Linked DNA regions of Homo sapiens: region 1 is linked to region 2. The links are contacts of gene promoters, found by promoter capture Hi-C in human tissues and cell types (Jung and others, 2019). All regions are on one chromosome and are shown on one strand. The core of a region is centred on a gene start or on the middle of the fragment in contact, and the rest is flanking DNA. Distances in the headings are between cores, read along the strand shown. Region 1 overlaps OSBP2 (oxysterol binding protein 2). Region 2 holds the start of SEC14L6 (SEC14 like lipid binding 6).

The links. Contacts are between HindIII fragments. The study calls those that stand out against the background at their distance.
Region 1: a fragment that was not itself captured here is called in contact with the fragment with the promoter of SEC14L6 in region 2 in 1 of the 25 tissues and cell types used here (IMR-90 fibroblasts).

Annotation. Positions count from the first base shown.
Region 1 is chr22:30,739,296-30,741,995 of GRCh38, forward strand. OSBP2 (oxysterol binding protein 2) reads left to right here. Exons shown (of 14, transcript NM_030758.4): 2 at 1,866-2,074. Among named protein-coding and RNA genes, the nearest start is that of MIR3200, 9.1 kb to the left of the region's middle. RefSeq lists enhancers at 1,053-1,112, 1,403-1,462. The HindIII fragment of the contact is 6,032 bases long and covers 1-2,700 here.
Region 2 is chr22:30,545,268-30,548,021 of GRCh38, forward strand. It overlaps SEC14L6 (SEC14 like lipid binding 6), which reads right to left and starts at 1,474. Exons shown (of 12, transcript NM_001193336.4): 1 at 1,362-1,474. The coding sequence starts at 1,415. The HindIII fragment of the contact is 18,463 bases long and covers 1-2,754 here.

The sequences.
Region 1 (2,700 bases), core at 169-2,668, 190 kb after region 2:
CCAGAGAATGGGACATCCTTGCTCTGTAGATCTCATGATAGAACAAAAGGGCAGCATCAGGGAGACATTGGCCCCAGGTGCCTCCCAGCAGGAGATGCCTCTACGTCTGCCCCCTCAGGCTCTGGGCCTCCAATTTCAGTTTTAATGGCAGGATCCCAACCTGCTCCAACTCTGTAGTTCTTTTTTTTGTTTGTTTTGAGACAGAGTCTCGCTCTGTCACCCAGGCTGGAGTGTAGTGGCACCATTTTGGCTCACTGCAACCTCCGCCTCCCGGGTTCAAGTGATTCTCCTGCCCCAGCCTCCCAAGTAGCTGGGACTACAGGTGCACGCTACCATGCCCGGCTAATTTTTGTATTTTTGTAAACGCCCAAGGGGTTCACCTTGCCTGCTGCCTAGACGGAGGCGATTCATGAAAACAGGGGAATTGCAATAGAGAAAGAGTAATTCACACAGAGTCTGCTGTGCGGGAGATGGGAGTTTTATTATTATTCAAATCAGTCTCCCTGAGCATTCAGGGAGCAGAGTTTTTGTTTTGTTTTGTTTTGTTTGTTTGTTTGTGTTTGAGACAGAGTCTCGCTCTGTAGCCCAGGCTGGAGTGCAGTGGCGCGATCTTGGCTCACGGCAACCTCTGCCTCCCCGGTCCTGGTTTAAGCAATTCTCCTGCCTCAGCCTCCCGAGTAGCTGGGATTACAGGCAAGAGCCACCACGCCCAGCTAATTTTTGTATTTTTAGTAGAGACGGGATTTCACCATGTTGGCCAGCTGGTCTTGAACTCCTGACCTCGGGTGATCTGCCCATCTCGGCCTCCCAAAGTGCTGGGATTAAAGGTGTGAGCCACCGCGCCTGGCCAAGGGGAGCAGAGTTTTTAAGGATAACTTGGAGGGTGGTGGGGGAACCAGTAAGCCAGGAGTGCTGATTGGTCAGGGATGAGATCACAGGATGTTGAAGCTGTCTTCTTGTGCTGAGTCAGTTCCTAGGTGGGGGCCACAAGATCAGACGAGCCAGTTTATCGATGTGGGTGGTGCCAGCTGATCCATCAAGTGCAGGGTTTGCAAAATATCTCAAGCACTGCTCTTAGGAGCAGTTTAGGGAGGGTCAGAATCTTATAGCCTCCAAATGCATGACTCCTAAACCATAATTTCTAATCCTGTGGCTAATGTTACTCTAGTCCCTAGGCAAGAAGGAGGTCTGCTTCGGGAAAGGGCTGTTCCCATCTTTGTTTAAACTATAAACTACAAATTAAGTTTCTTTCAAAGTTAATTCAGCCTATGCCCAGGAATGAACAAAGACAGCTTGGAGGTTAGAAGCAAGATGGAGTCAGTTAAGTTAGATCTCTTTCACTCTCAGTCATAATTTTGCAAAGGCAGTTTCATTTTTAGTAGAGACAGGGTTTCACCGTGTTGGCTCATGACCTCAAGTGATCTGCCCTCCTCGGTCTCCCAAAGTGCTGAGATTACAGGTGTGAGCCACCGCGCCTGGCCCCAACTCCATGGTTCTAAGACTTAAAGGAAAGAGTTTAGCATAGAGTCCGAAGGCTGATCTGTCTTGAGAGACCTGGGCAGTCATTCTGCCATTTCCTGGTGTCTGCAAAGCTTTAGACCACACCAGACACTCCCTGCACACGTGGCACCAATGCAGGCTCCCGTCCCTCTGCCATTCCCCACAGAGAGCAGTCGTGGCCTTAGAGTCCCCCTCAACCAAGCCACGACCAGGCAGTTCCAATAGGCATCATCTCCCAACTTTGACTCCAGGGCCTCTCCCAGCTCTGAGGGTCTGAGATTCTGAGGATTTGCCTGGAGGGTTTCTTTAGTCTGGAGCCATTGAGATTAGGAGCCTCACCCCATTCCTTCTCTTACATCCTACAGAAATCAGGGTGAAATGGCCCACACGTGCCGTGGAACCATCAACCTGTCCACCGCGCACATTGACACGGAGGACTCTTGTGGTATCTTGCTGACCAGTGGGGCCAGGAGCTACCACCTCAAGGCCAGCTCAGAGGTGGACCGGCAGCAGTGGATCACCGCCCTGGAGCTGGCCAAGGCCAAGGCTGTCCGCGTGATGAACACTCATTCAGGTAGTGAGCACTTGGGACAGCGGGTGTGTATATGGTGGTGTCATGAGTCTGGAGGAAGTGGGAATTGCAAGCCACTGGTGGGCAGTGGTGGCCAGGAGACCCAGGCCAGCGTGGATCAATCTGGAAGGTCAAGGTGCGTGCATGTTCTGTGCATCGTCAGCAGTGAGAGACTCAGCCATTCTGTCTGGCGAGCAGTTCTTGGCATGGAAATGTTTTTGGTGGGCAGGAGCTGTGTGTGCCTTTCTTTGGGCTAGTCAGGACTTCAGCAGACCCTTCAGATGCTGCAGTGGGTTAGGTCCAGAAGCAGCAGTCAGTCTGTGCCTCAAGCCAGCCGTTTCCCCAGGTTCCCCCATCGTGGAGAGTGAAACCATTTAGCCAGAGCTGCTGTCTTTGCCTATTAGGGAAGCCCGCTCAGATGTCCTGAGCAAGACATTTTGTTTCTTACTTTATAAATTTATTTTATTTTTTGAGATAGAGTCTCACTCTGTCGCCCAGGCTGGAGTACAGTGGCATGATCTCGGCTCACTGCAACCTCTGCCTTCCGTGTTCAAGCAATTATCCTGCCTTAGCCTCCCAAGTAGCTGGGATTATAGGCGCACACCACCATGCCCAGCTAATTTTTGTAT
Region 2 (2,754 bases), core at 224-2,723:
CAGCAGCCTTCACCAGCCCTGTCCAATATGGTAGCCACAAATTCTTAAAATGTGGCTAGTTTGAACTGAGGTCTGCTGTGAGTGTAAAATACACAGGATTCCAAAGACTCAGTATCCCCTCAAAACACTCATTTTTTTTTTTTTTGAAACAGGGTCTAGCTCTGTTGCCCAGGCTGGAGTGCAGTGGCACGATGTTGGCTCACCGCAGTCTCGACCTCCTAGGCTCAATCCATCCTCCCACCTCAGCCTCCCGAGTAGCTGGGACTACAGGCATGGGCCACCACACCCAGCTATTTGTTGTTGTTGTTGTTGTTTTTAGAGATGGGGTCTCCCTATGTTGCTAATTTTTTAATTTTTTGTAAAGATGTGTTCTTGCTATGTTGCCAGAACTCCTGGGCTCCAGTGATCCTCCCGCCTCAAAGTGCGGGGATTATAGGCCCGAGCTACTGCACCAGACCAGTTGTTTTTATATTGATTAGATTATATATTGAAGTTAATACATCATTAAACTTTACTTCAATTGTTTCTTTTTAGGTTTTTTTTGTTTTGTTTTGTTTTGTTTTTGTTTTTGTTTTGTTTTTGAGACATAGTCTTGCTCTGTCTCCCAGGCTGGAGTGCAGTGGCAGAATCTTGGCCCACTGCAACCTCCACCTCCTGGGTTCAAACGATTCTCCTGCCACAGGGTTTCACCCTGTTGCCCAGGCTGGTCTCAAACTCCTGACCTCAAATGATCCATCCACCTCAGCCTCCCAAAGTGTTGGGATTACAGGCATGAGCCACAGCGCCCAGCCTCTTTTTAGTTCTTTAATGGAGCTACTAGAAAATTTCAAAAAGGCCGGGCATGGTGGCTCATGCCTGTAATCCCAGCACTCTGGGAGGCCAAGGTGGGTGGATCACCTGAGATCAGGAATTCCAGACCAGCCTGACCAACGTGGTTAAAACCCCATCTCTACTAACATACAAAAATTAGCCAGGCGTGGTAGCAGGTGCCTGTAATCCCAGCTACTCCGGAGGCTAGGGCAGGAGAATTGCTTGAACCCAGAAGGCAGAAGTTGCAGTGAGCCAAGATTGTGCCGTTGTACTCCAACCTGGGCAACAAGAGCGAAACTCCGTCTCAAAAAAAAAAAAAAAAAAAAAAAGGAAGAAAGAAAATTTCAAATGACCTATGTGGCTTGCGTTTGTGGTGGCGTGGTATTTCTATTGGTTAGTGCTGGTGTAGCCTCTGGCTACCAAGCCCCTCAGGGTTGGGAAGAGACCCAGAGCTGGAGAGTTCAGAAGAAACTCAGGGACCTTGAGTCCTGCCCTTCCCCGTGGCAGAAGGAGAAACTGAGGCTGGTGTAGGAGTCTCTCCCTTCACTCACCTGGGCCAGCGACTTCTCCTGCGATGGGCTCAGGTCACCCACTTGTCCACTCATGCTGCCCATGAATGGGTCCAGGCTCCACTCTGTGGCTCCCTCCAGGTGGCCTGCCTTTTGCCAGCTGGTAGCCATGCCCACATTTATCACCACCCAGAAATCCCACTACTTCCTGTGAGCCTCAGGGCAACAGGTGGGGCTCATTCCTTACTAGGTGCCTCAGGCATGGGGCCCTGGATTCAGCCTGCCCTGGGTTCACATCCTCACTTGCAAAATTAGGACAGCGATGTTTCCTCGGAGCGTTGATGACATGTTGAAATTGACACCACCTGATTTCACACACACACGGAGGCGGCTGTTCACCCTGCCTCTCAGTCCCCTACCCTCTACTCCTGTGGTCCCATCGGATGCCTCTTTGAGCCAGGAGAAGTCATCTCTCACCCCCAACAGAGGCCCGGAAGTCACTGTCATCATGCCTTCACTCTCATCCCAGGCTTCATCTACCACCTGACATGTCCAGAGCAACTGCCCATGATTCATCCCAGATGTTAAGGCACATGGCTTCAGGGTTGAGGATGAAACTTCCCAGGCCCAGACCCAAACAGGTGGATTTGCAATCCTGAGCTGGGCCACACTTGGCCTGGGAGCCAGGATGAGAGGTGAGGAGGGACTCCTGGCTACATCTGCCCCCACCACCCACTGGACAAGCAGAAAGCCAGAGCCCAAGGTGAGGACACATGAGATCACGCGGTGTGCACGGGGCCTGGAACACAGTAGTTATTTGTAGTAGTCTGGGTTGCCCTGAAACAAGGAGTTCAGGGCAAGTTTATTAGGGAGGTGTCCTGAGAAACACAAGTAGGGAAGTGTGGAAATGAGACAGAGAACGGAAGGCAGCTGTATAGGCCTGGTTATCAAGGAAGTACAGAAGAGCTCAATCCCAGTGGGGACTTCTGGGAGACAGCAGGGAACCTGCCCATCAGCGTTTCCTTGCCTGAGTGGGGAGGGAGCTGGGGTATTTATGCAGCATCTCGGGACAGTCTTCAGTTGAGGGCTGCTCCAGGGGCTGTCAATTCTGCTGGCACTGCTGGCCTGCTGTGCACACAATTCAGAAGGCTGGAGAGCGTACTTAGGCAGAGAAACACAGGTGCTGCTGCTGGGGAGTAGTGAGGCTGAGGTGATACAGGCAGAACATCACCAGCTTTAGCTCTAATCAGAAACCGTTTGCTGGGCTCCATGTCAAGTTCTAGTCCAAAGGCTTCATGTGCTCCTTGAGCCCCAGACTGTTCTTCCCTACCTGACAGAGCCTGGAAGAGGGAAGCAGCATGCCTGGGGCCATACAGCCATGTAGTAAGTGACAATCAGGACTATCTGGACCTGGTGCTTACTCAGGACATTGTAT